Regions from separate parts of the Homo sapiens genome. Here all the other regions are linked to region 1. The links are contacts of gene promoters, found by promoter capture Hi-C in blood cells and fetal thymus (Javierre and others, 2016). All regions are on one chromosome and are shown on one strand. Each heading gives the region's core, a stretch centred on a gene start or on the middle of the fragment in contact. The rest is flanking DNA. Distances are from core to core; before and after follow the strand shown.

Region 1 (2,742 bases), core at 241-2,740:
AAGTCACAGTAAATGACAAGAAAAAGAGAACCAATGATGGCATCATCAAGGGGTAAAAGCTGCATTTAAGAAGATGGCAGAAGAAAAGAAAACGGTAAGGGAAAGGGTCACTCAATGGAGTGAAAGAAGAAAACTAAGTAAGTACTAATTTGTCACCTCCACAGGGTCAAATGCTGCAGGGAAGTCAAGGAAGAACTTAAAAGGGTCCGTCCATTAAGACTGAACAAGAGTTGATGTCAAGCTGGGCAAGAAGACTCGGAGGAATAGTGTGGATGGAAAAAAGGAAAGAAAGCGGAAATAATACAGAACAGGGGAGAGCTGAACAGCTTTGGTATCCCCTGAAAATAAATTAAAAAGGGAAAGGGGGGAGTGACGGCTGAGAAAAGGAAATGCCAGAAAGGGCTAAGGCTGTTGCGGGCTTAAGTGAGAAAAGGAATACGACAGAGATGAAGGCCAATGACAGTCTGACTCACAGGGGTTTGCAGTCTCCCTAGAGGAAGTGGAGGGGCCTGAATTGGCCACCCCGGGCATGGCGCAACACCTCCGACTCTGGGGAGGAGTTGAGTCCAGGCCCCTGATGCTGCGGCGGTCTTCACTTGCTCTCACCCACGAGCCACTGCAGCGGCAGCGGCCCTCTTCTCCGTCGTCACTAGGACGGGGCCCAAGGTCCTCTCTTGCTCTCTCCCAGAAGCTGCAGCGGAAACCTTCGTCTTCACTTTCTCTCTCCCAAAAGCCACTGAAGCGGTAGCTGGCGTCTTCACTGCCGCTCACACCAGAGGAGTCGCTGGCTGCGTAGCCGCGGTCTCCACTTACTTCCTCCCAAGAACTACCAACGCTGTGGCCGCCTTCGACACTCCCTCCCTCCCAGGAGCCACTGAAGCGGCGACTGCGATCGTCACTGACTCTATCCCCGAAGTCACTAGTTCGCGGGTCCCGAATGTCACTGACTCCCTCCCAAGGACCACTGAGGCGGAGGCCTCGGTCTTCTCTGGCTGTTCCCCTGGAGTCGGTAGTTTGGTGGCCTCCAACTTCACTAAAATTCACGTCGCTGCTGCAGAAGGTGCTGTCTCCCCTAACTCTCTCCCAAGAGCAGCTGTGACTGTGGCCACTATCTCCCCTAACTCTCTCCCTAGAGACGCTGCGGCAGTGGCCGAGGTTTTCACTGACCCTTCTCAAGTCACTGCGGGAGAAGCCGGCGTCTGCACTTAGGCTTCCTGCAGCGACCCTGGAGCGGCGGTCGCTCTCTTCACATTTTCTTTCCCCGTCGTCGCTAACTCTTTCCCTAGACTCGGCGCCGGAATGGCCGTGTAGACCGTTTATCCTCCACACGTGGTGGCTAGTGCGGCGGCCACCGTCTTCGTCTGCTACTCCCTGCGAATCGCCGTAGCGGCGGCCGCCTTCCGCTGGTACTTTCTCGGAGTCTCTTTCCAGCCTCCCGACTCCAGCCACTTGGCTGGAGAGGCAGCAGGGCCGTCGCCTTGGAAACGAGTACACTTCCGACGTGCTGAGGTCATTTCCCGTTCCTCACGGCCCACGCTACTTCCGGTTTCCTTTCCCTCAGCTATTCCATGGCTTTTCGTGTGGACAAATCGGGAGGTGGTGTAAACTGGTTTTTGGTGAAATTCGGCTCGGCCTCATGCGAACCTATCTAGGTCCGTCTCTGGAGTGGCCTGTCATCGATCGCGCCCTCCATCGCTGAGCGACACAAGTGGAACCCCCCAGGACTGCATTCTGCGTAGGTGACCTGTGTGGCGCGGGCCGGGCGGGGCCTTTTTGTCCTTGGGCAAACGTGGTATACTTTCTCAGTGGTGGTTGGAAGGAAATTTGTTGCCCTGTCATTTCGCAAGTATGGAAAAAGACCTAAAGGAGAATTTAGCAGCTGCAGCCGCTGTTTTTATTGCGTACTTTACTAGCGCCAACTCTTTAATAATCGCTTGTTAGTTGTTACCCCTGTTTTATGGGTCAAGAGACTCAATATATCAGTACTTTGGTAAGGCCAGGCAGCAGGTAAGTTGTAAAACCAGTAAAAAAACACAGGTCATTAGTCAAAAGAGTGCTTCAGGTCTCCTGACTCCAAATCCGAGAATCCTTTCACTGTAGCATGTTTACTGCTCAAATATTTCTACAACCCTATTGCTTAACAACAGGAATGAATTATTTCACCATTTGTTGCAAACGTATGGGTCACGTTTTGTGCCAGCAGCAGAAAATACAGAAATTAGTAAGAATTACCTGCCCTCCAGGGGCATCACCAACCTGGATTCCCCTCTCGGCCCAGTTTTTCCACCCTTATTGCCTTCTCCCTTCAGGAATAATGAACTCGTCCTGGAAGCGTACCTTACTTTTTAATATCTCTGCCTTGTCATGTGCTGTTCGTCTTACCAGGAAACTACCCTGCTTTTCCCCCAGTTTTGGTCTGTGAACACATTTGGGAAATTCTTCTGATCCTACCGCTACTCTCTTGAGGTACAGTAAATTGTCTTTGACTTCCATCACCTTTTGTAATATTACAATTGCCATCTACTGAGTTCCTATGATCTGCCTGGCATTGTACTAAGTGCTTTATATTTTCTTGTTCATTTTTTTATGCCAACATAAATGAGTTTGACTCAATTCTTATTATAACCTGCCAAAATAAGTATTCCTCTTCCTTTTTACAGAGAGAGAAACAAGGGAAAAAAAAGTTAATTGCCTGAGGATATACTGCTAGTGTTGCGGGACAAATAGAGACGGGAGAGGCCA
Region 2 (3,091 bases), core at 204-2,703, 210 kb after region 1:
CTCACTGGATTGTTGTAAAGATTAAATGAGACCATCAGTAAATATTTGAGCACCTCCTATTTGCCAAGTGCTCTATTTGCTCTAAATGGACCCTGACGTCTCCCTCATGAAGCTTTCAGTTTAGTGGGAAAGATGGCTATTAAACAAATTATTACAAATAAATGATTCAGGCATGTCAGGTGCCATGAGGGAGAATGACAGGATGTATCGCAAGAGAGACTGTGTGGGGTGGGGGGGTGGGGAACCTAGCCTAATCTGAAGGTTCTGGAAAGCCTTCCTGAGGAAGCAATCTTATGTCCCTGGACATGAATACACCTGTGACCTGTGAAATTCGTGCAATTAGAAGGAAAGATTATTGTTTTTGTTGATGTTCTTATTTCTCAAGGCCTTGTGTTTTGTTCTACACTTAGCAGCCACCCTGGAGAATAATTCGTTTTCAGTAGTTGTCTACTCTGTGCAGGGAAATTGACAAGTATTGTCTTCTTCTTTGTTATTAGAATTATTAGTTATTAGGACTTAGAACTGGTAGATAACTGCAGAAAAAGTGAACCTTCAGCAGGTTGTGTGTTATTAACCACTTTTTATAAAGAAATAATCAAAGCCCAAAGAGATTAAGTGACTTGGCCAAGGTCATAGAACTTAAGAGACCTGAAGGAAAATTATATTGTTGTCTGCCATGGCATGATTCCTGTTTTCTTTAACAAAGATAATACCTTAATACATCCATTTGAATTTTGAACTGGAAAAGTGGTGAGGTTGGCTCTCCCTCCAGTTGCTGATTAAATGCCAACAGTCACAGCTTGCCCTGTATCATGCCTTTTGTAATATGGCATTGTGAGTAAGAACGGGGACTCTGGGACCACAATGCCTGGTTGAATTGGTTCTGGGACATATTGGCTATGAGATGCTGAACAAGTTAATTAATCTTACTGTGCCTCAGTTTATTCATGCAAGAAATGGGTATTATGATAGTATCTACCTCATAGGGTTACTGTGAGGAATAAGTGAGTTGCCACAGGTAAAATGCTTAGAATAGAGCTTGGCACATAATAAATGCTTGACGAATTTCCTATATGTATTTTTTTAAGAATGAAAAGGAAACTCTTAACAAAGAAAAAACAAAACAAAACAAAATAAGCCCCTCTCCCTAACCAGAAACACACCCAACAGATTTTTTTTTTTTTAATTTTCAGTGCTTTTTTTTTTTTTTTTTTTTTTTTTTTTAGGGCAGAAAATAACCATGAAATTGTTTGGGTAAAGGTGTACCCATTTTCAAACCAAAGCAAGGCAAAGCTTTTTTTTTCTTTTTTTCTCCAACCTGATCCTTCTTCACCTGATTCTTATCTTATGCCTTTACAGCTACAGATCTGGGACACAGCAGGTCAAGAGAGATTTCGGTCCATTACCCAGAGTTACTACCGAAGCGCCAATGCCTTGATCCTCACCTATGACATTACCTGTGAGGAATCCTTCCGTTGCCTTCCTGAGTGGCTGCGGGAGATAGAACAATATGCCAGCAACAAGGTCATCACTGTGTTAGTGGGTAAGTAAGGGCTAACGAGGAGGGAAATTGATTTGTGGGCATTAGAGGATTTATAATCACATAAAGCTTATACATTGGTGCCTTCCAAGAATATAGTCTTTAGCTAATAATTCATGCAGTCAACCTTCAGTTCTTCTGCAATTGAAGAGAAAATGAAATAGGTCCTATCCCATGGTGACAGTTTAGAAAAATAAAGTAGAAAACATTTTCTATCAATGTAGGCTCTAGGGAAGAAGTTGGATGGCCATGAAAGTTATGTGAGCTGCTAAAAATTTAAAAAGTCTAATTACAAGATGAAAGGAATGGCTGTTCTAGAAGAAAAATGTATCTTTTAAGTTGATATGGAATTCATTATTGAAGCAATTGTTTATTGCCTAAAAGGTGGATTTTGGTAATTTTTTTTCCCTTCCTAACATTTAGGCTGATTTGAGAAATTCTGTGTTTCAGAAAGAATCTGCTAAGGGCAATGCTGTAGTTTGTTTCATCTTGTAGGAGAATAAAACCTCTATTTAGTATGGGGGGAAAGCACAAAACAACCCTTGATTTTCTATCATGACTGATATATGCATTGAAATGGACCAGGTCATTAAAAACTTCTCTGTTTGTAGTGGAAAAGTGTTAGTAACCATTTGATCATTAACATATTTTCTTCCTAGAAAGGAACGTTCCTATATAGTCTAGCAATACCTGAATTAGGGAAATTTGAGTAGAGATCCTTAGAAGCATTGTTAAGTTACAAATTATGGTTAATAATAAGCTCAGTAAACACTTTAGAATAGTGTTATAATTGGTATATATGTGCCAGGAATGATACGAGGAACTTTATGTGTCATGATCCCTGATTTACAGATCAGGAAACCACGGCTCAAAGAGGTGAAGTTCTTTTCCCAAGGTCACATAGCATGTAAGATCAACTCCAAGCCCTGTAGTTGTCCAGCTGTAATATGTTACGTTGTAACAAATTGCTGGACTTTTCCTTCAGGCTGCTGGATGAAGCATCTGTGTTTCTATGAGCTAGTGCTCCCTGTAAAACCCTTTTGGACAATGTTGAACCTTTGCCATAAAGCATTTGAGAGGTCTGCATTTGTACCTTCTGTTTTACAGAAAGCCTTTGGGAACTTGAGTCAAAGCATTACTACTTGGGATTTTATCTAAGGAAGGTAAATGAAGATTTGAGGGGAGACAGTTAGTTCAATATGAAAGAGGAATTGGCTTAAAACACAATTTTACTATGGAAAATTTCAGACATAAACAAGAGTAGAGAAACAGTATAGTGAATCCCCTTCTACACATCTCCCAGCTTTCACAGTTACCAACTCATGACCAATCTTATTTTCTCTTCCCTAGCAATGCTGTCCACCTTCTCCCTCAGATTATTTTGAAGCAAATCTCAGAGGTTGTATTAATTCATGTTTCAATATCTGTGTATATCTCTAATAGATTTTTAAAAAGAAAACCTAACCTCAGTGGCATTTTTACACCTAAAATATGTTAACAATTCCTTAGTATCCTTAAAAACTTAGACAGTGTTCAAATTTCCCTGATCGA
Region 3 (3,148 bases), core at 593-3,092, 180 kb after region 1:
TCTTTCTTATTCAATTCTCATCTTAAATATACCCACTTCAGAGAGAACTTCTGTGACAGCTATCCAGTCTTTTCCTCCTGTTTTAATTCTCTACTAGCACTTATCACTGTCTGATACTTTTCTTGTTTATTTGTGTATATGCTTATTTTCCCATTCATTCATTCATTGCTCTATTTTTATGCTGTATGAGAGGGGGAACTTGTCTTCTTGTTCATCATGGTATCCCCTGCTTCTGGATATGTGACTTGCACATAGTAGATGCCCAGTACAAATGTATGAAATGAGTGAATGTTTTTCTCACCTGTAAAATGGAGAGGCCAACACTTATGTCTCAGAGTTGTTGAGGACTTGCATTATTTAATTTGATAATGCAGGTAAAGTGGATAGGTCTGTGTCTAGCACATTGTTTTTATAGAAACTATTATTTTCTAAGTATCTGGCTTATTGTAGACATGCAATAAAGGTTAGTTCTCTTTCTTTATTTCTTGCAGTCTGGATCTCCTGCAGTATTTTATATTTAATTGACCTGCACTTTGGGTCCTCCAACGCACACAGAGACACTGCATTGTAGCAAGGTTTGACTTTCTCTTGGGAAATTATAGTTTTCTTCTCTTTGGTTATATGATCTTTGCCAATTAACTCTCCTTAAGATCAAATTGCTTTGGGGTTTGATTTCCTCATCATAGTGTTTAGTTTCTCTGAAAAGCACTCTCAGCTTTTGTGTGTACTGATCAGTTTTTCTTTTGCATTTATTTAATATTTAGTCTACTGAAATGTCAGGCGATGAGAATACAGATAGGAATTTGCAGGAGCCTCTGTCCTTAAGGCCTAGTGGAGGAAACAGGATACATAAACCAACAAGAATAATAAAGTGTCTGGCCAGGCGCAGTGGCTTATGCCTGTAATCCCAGCACTTTGGGAGGCCGAGGCAGGTGAATCACTTGAGGTCAGGAGTTTGAGACCAGCCTGGCCAACGTGGTGAAACCCCTGTCTCTACTAAAAATACAAAAATTAGCCAGGCATGGTAGTGCATGCCTATAATTCCAACTACTAGGGAAGCTGAGGCAGGAGAATTTATTGAACCCAGGAGGCGGAGGTTGCAGTGACCCGAAATCACACCATTGCACTCCAGCCTGGGGAACAGAGTGAGACTCTGTCTCAAAATAATAAAAATAAAAATGAAAATAAATTTTAAAAAAAAGTGTCTATGGAGAAACTCTGCAGAACATAGAGGAGGCACAAAGTAGAGAGTGACCAATTCACAGGGAGGGTGGGGGTATGGTTTGAGAGATAATTGGTTGTTTACCACCCAATAAAGAGAGATGAGCCCTGTGAGTAAAGGTGTGAAGGGATGAACCTGTCTAGGGGCCCATGCTCTGGGAACTTGGCAAGACTGCGTGATCATAGCGGTAGTCATAGTGGTAACAGGTCATGAGAAGCAAAGCCTGAAAGATACGAGGTGCTGGGCTGTGGAGGGCTCTGCATGCCCTGCTGGAGAATTTGAACTTTCGCCCAACAATAACAATAACAGTAGCAGCACCTAACATTTACTGAGCACTTCCTCTTTGCCAGGCCCTCTTCTTTGTACTTTATTGTATTAATTCCTTTAATCTGCACAACGGTCCTATGGGGTAAGTACTGTTATTATCCCTATTTGTAAATAAATACACATAGGATAGGTATTGAATTTGTTCTTAAAAATAATAATAAATAAATAAATGTAGGCACCAAGAGGACAAGGAACTTGCCCAGGGTCACCCAACTCATAAAGAGCATTCAGAGCATTCAGAAAGAGCAGTCTGAGGATTCAGACTCAGGCAGTGTGGCTCCAAAGTTTGCCCTCTTAACCAGGGCACTGTACTACTTCTTACAGACAACTTTGTGGGGGCAGCCAGAGCCCTGGAAGAGTTTTAAGTGTGGGAATGACATGATTAGATTAGTTCTTTGGAGAGGCTGCAGTGGAGTCGCATTGCATCTTGTACAAGTGTTCATTTCTAAAAGCATTGGAGGCAAAAAATGCCAAGTTCCATTTCTTCTTGCCTCTGAGTGAGGTTTGCTATGCTAGTGGTGGCGTACCACATCTTAGGCAGTCCAACACAGCAGCTTTTTTCCTCTATCCTTAGAACAGAGGACAGAGTCTTTGGAAGACATGCATATAATAGATGAATCATCAGTTTGTGTTGAGGGACTCTTTTGTTTGAAAAGCACAAAAGTATCACACTCCTGCAGAAACTGAGCCCCTCAGTGGTGACAACAGACTCAGCCTCCCCTCATTTAGTGCATATCCAAGCCTGTGCGTTGCTTAGATAGTGTTTTTCCCTGCCCTTGTTTCTCTCTCTAGAGAAGTCCATAGTGATATGGGTGCACATTAGGCCTGTGATGGTCTGCATTGCATTTGGCAGCAGAATGGAAGAAGGACAGCCTGCAAGTGGGGAGGCAGGAAGAAGGCAGGGAAAACAAGCAGAACACAGCAGCTGCTGCCCAGCTACCAGAGTCTGGCCTTGGTGAAGGGCAGGGCAGGAGGCCAGGAGAGTAAGGGTATGAGAAATGTAAAGAAAGTTAAATATTCTGGACCTAATGACCAATTGAATTGGTTTCCTTCAACTTTCTTCTGATCTGAAAACTTAGTACATCATTGTATCTTCTTGTTTTCAGTCTGTTAAATGCCTTTCTAATTCCAACTACATTATTCAGTCTTCCAGCTTTAATACACAGTACTCGCCATGTTCTTGGCTTATGGCTACTGAAATAGACCTAAGAGTCATCTACAGGTGTTAGGAACCTTGATTGGTCCATTTATTTTGTCATAGTGGTACAATATTCTCTTTTTTACTTACAAACTGACATTATGTGGGGTCTCTTGATAGCCACCATTATGTTATAGTACAAGATTTATATTAAGTTCTCTGGTTTCTCAAAATTGAAATGATTTTGTAACTGCTTTAAAGAAATGTTGATGCGATTACAACAACGATCAAAACAAAACCAAACCAGCCAGTACATGGGAAAAAGAAACTAGGAGAAACACATCAAAATGTTGACAGTGATTGCATTTGTATTGGCAATTTTATTTTTCCCTTTTCTGTGTTTCCAAAGTTCTGAAAATGTGTCTATGGTACATACAAAATGTTAACAACTTGTTTTTTAA
Region 4 (2,855 bases), core at 350-2,849, 230 kb after region 1:
TCATATAAACAGAAGACAAAAGCTGCATGATTATCTCAATAAACTAGGTATCCAAGGAACATTCCTCAAAATAATAAATGCCATCTATGAAAAACCCACAGCCAATATCATACTGAATGGGCAAAAACTGGAAGCATTCCCCTTGAAAACTGGCAGAAGACAAGGATGCCCTCTCTCACCACTCTTATTCAACACAGTATTGGAAGTCCTGGCCACGGCAATCAGGCAAGAGAAAGAAAGAAAGGGCATCCAAATAGGAAGAGAGGAAGTCAAACTATCCCTGTTTGCAGATGACATGATTCTAATCTAGAAAACCCCATAGTCTCCACCCAAAAGCTCATTAACTTCAACAAAGTCTCAGGATACAAAATGATGGTGCAAAAACCACTTACATTCTTACATACCAAAAACAGTCAAGCCGAGATCCAAATCAGGAATGCAATCCCATTCACAACTGCCACAAAAATAAAATAAAATAAATACCTAGGAATACAGCTAAACAGGGAGGTGAAAGATCTCTACAAGGAGAACTACAAAACACTGCTCAAAGAAATCAGAGATGGCACAAACAAATGGAAAAACATTCCATGTTCATGGATAGGAAGAATCAATATTGTTAAAATGGCCATACTACCCAAAGCAATTTATAGACTCAAGGCTATTCCTATTAAACTACCACTAACATTCTTCACGAACTAGGAAAAACTATTTCAAAATTCATATGGAATTTAAAAAAGCTCTGATGCCTGTAATCCCAGCTACTTGGGAGGCGGAGGCAGGAGAATCACTTGAACCCAGGAGGCAGAGGTTGCAGAGAGCTGAGATCATGCCATTGCACGCCAGCCTGGTGACAAAGCTGGAAAAAAAAAAAAAGGCCGGGTGCAGTGGCTCATGCCTGTAATCCCAGTACTTTAGGAGGCCAAGGTGGGTGGATCTCTTGAGGTCAGGAGTTTGAGACCAGCCTGGCCAACATTGTGAAACTCCATCTCTACTAAAAATACAAAATAGCCGGGCATGGTGGTGTGCACCTGTAATTCCAGCTACTTGGGAGGCTGAGGCAGGAGAATCACTTGAACCCAGGAGGCAGAGGTTGTAGTGAGCTAAGATCACGCCACTGCATTCCAGTCTGGGTGACAGAGTGAGACTGTCTCAAGAAAAAAAAAAAAAGAGAGAGAGAGAGCTTGAATAGCCAAGGCAATACTAAGCAAAAAGAACAAAGCTGGAAGCATCATGCTATTAATAACTGACTTCAAACTAAACTATAGGGCTACAGTAATCAAAACAGCATGGTGCTGGTACAAGAAACAGACACATAAACCAATGAAACAGAATAGAAAACCCAGAAGTAAGGCTGCTCACCTACAAATATCTGATCTTTGACAAAGCTAACAAAAACAAGCACTGGGGAAAGGATTCCCTATTGAATAAGTGGTGCTGGATAACTGGCCAGCTATATGCAGATGATTGAAACTGGACCCCTTCCTTATACCATGTACAAAAATTAACTCAAGATGGATTAAAGAATTAAATGTAAAACCAAAAACTATAAAAACCCTGGAAGACAATGTAAGCAATACCTTTCTGAACGTAGGAATGAGCAAAGATCTCATGGTGAAAACACCAAAAACAATTGCAACAAAAGCAAAATTGACAAATGGGATCTAATTAAACTAAAGAGCTTCTGCACAGCAAAGGAAACTATCAACAGTGCACAGACAACCTACTGAGTGGGAGAAAATTTTTGCAAACTATGTATCCGACAAAGGCCTAATATTCAGCATCTATGAGGAACTTAAGCAAATTCACAAGAAAAAGACAACCCCATGAAAAAGTGGGCAAAGGACATGACCAGACATATTCCAAAAGAAGACATACATGTGGCCAACGATCATATGAAAAAAGCTCATCACCACTGATCATTAGAGAAATGCAAATCAAAACCACAATGAGATACCATCTTACACCAGTCAGAATGGCAATTAAAAAGTCAAAAAATAACAGATGCTGGTGAGGGTGCAGAGAAAAGGAACACTTATACACTGTTGGGAGTGTAAATTAGTTCAATGATTGTGGAAAATAGTGTGGCAAGTCCTCAAATATCTGAAGACAGAAATACTATTCAACTCAGCAATCCCATTAGTGGGTATACACCCAAAGGAATATAAATCATTCTATTATGAAGACACAGGCATATGTTCATTGCAACACTATTCACAATACCAAAGACATGGAATCAACCTAAATGCCCATCAATGATAGACTGCATAAAGAAAATGTGGTATATGTATACCAAGGAATACTATGCAGCCATAAAAAAGAATGAGCTCAACTAGCTGGGCATGGTGGTATGTGCCTGTAGTTTCAGCTATTTGGGAGGCTGAGGTGGGAGGATGACTTGAATCCAGGAGACAGAGGTTGCAGTGAGCTGAGATTGCACCACTATACTCCATCCTGGGTGACAGAGCCAGACCCTGTCTTAAAATAAAAAAGAATGAGATTGTGTCATGTCCTTTGCAGGAACATGGATGGAGCTGGAGGCCATTATCCTTAACAAACTAATGCAGGAACAGAAAACCAAATATGGCATGTTCCCACTTATAAGTGGGAGCTAAGTGATAAGAACACATGGACACACAGAGGGGAACAACACACACTGTGGCCTATTGGGGGGTGGAAGGTGGGAGGAGGGAGAGGATCAGGAAAAATAACTAATGGGTACTATGCTTAATACCTGGGTGACAAAATAATCTGTACAAAAACCCCCCATGACACAAGTTTACCTATGTAAAGAACCTGCACAAGTACCCCTGAACTTAAAATAAAAGTTAAATAAATTAAAAAAACAAAAAATACAG

The links. The method cuts DNA at HindIII sites, captures the fragments that hold promoters and counts their contacts. A CHiCAGO score of 5 or more calls a contact.
Region 2: a contact is called between a fragment that was not itself captured here and the fragment with the promoter of ANKRD42 in region 1, in 2 of 17 cell types (total B cells and naive B cells). The highest score is 7.8, in total B cells.
Region 3: a fragment that was not itself captured here is called in contact with the fragment with the promoter of ANKRD42 in region 1 in 2 of 17 cell types (total CD4 T cells and naive B cells); the score reaches 6.0 in total CD4 T cells.
Region 4: a contact is called between a fragment that was not itself captured here and the fragment with the promoter of ANKRD42 in region 1, in 7 of 17 cell types (total CD8 T cells, activated CD4 T cells, total CD4 T cells and 4 more). The highest score is 11.0, in total CD8 T cells.

What each region holds. Positions count from the first base shown.
Region 1 is chr11:83,192,460-83,195,201 of GRCh38, reverse strand. ANKRD42 (ankyrin repeat domain 42) reads right to left here and starts at 1,490. Exons shown (of 11, transcript NM_001300975.2): 1 at 474-1,490. The coding sequence starts at 531. It overlaps ANKRD42-DT (ANKRD42 divergent transcript), which reads left to right and starts at 1,533. Exons shown (of 3, transcript NR_149009.1): 1 at 1,533-1,735. RefSeq lists enhancers at 514-873, 1,394-1,503, 1,564-1,783 and a silencer at 1,081-1,259. The HindIII fragment of the contact is 14,061 bases long and covers 1-2,742 here.
Region 2 is chr11:82,986,039-82,989,129 of GRCh38, reverse strand. It overlaps RAB30 (RAB30, member RAS oncogene family), which reads left to right. Exons shown (of 5, transcript NM_001286060.2): 4 at 1,360-1,543. Among named protein-coding and RNA genes, the nearest start is that of SNORA70E, 54 kb to the left of the region's middle. The HindIII fragment of the contact is 316 bases long and covers 1,296-1,611 here.
Region 3 is chr11:83,011,114-83,014,261 of GRCh38, reverse strand. The region is part of intron 1 of RAB30 (RAB30, member RAS oncogene family); the gene reads left to right. Among named protein-coding and RNA genes, the nearest start is that of SNORA70E, 29 kb to the left of the region's middle. The HindIII fragment of the contact is 8,703 bases long and covers 1-3,148 here.
Region 4 is chr11:82,961,666-82,964,520 of GRCh38, reverse strand. No RefSeq gene overlaps it. Among named protein-coding and RNA genes, the nearest start is that of DDIAS, 61 kb to the right of the region's middle. The HindIII fragment of the contact is 3,352 bases long and covers 1-2,855 here.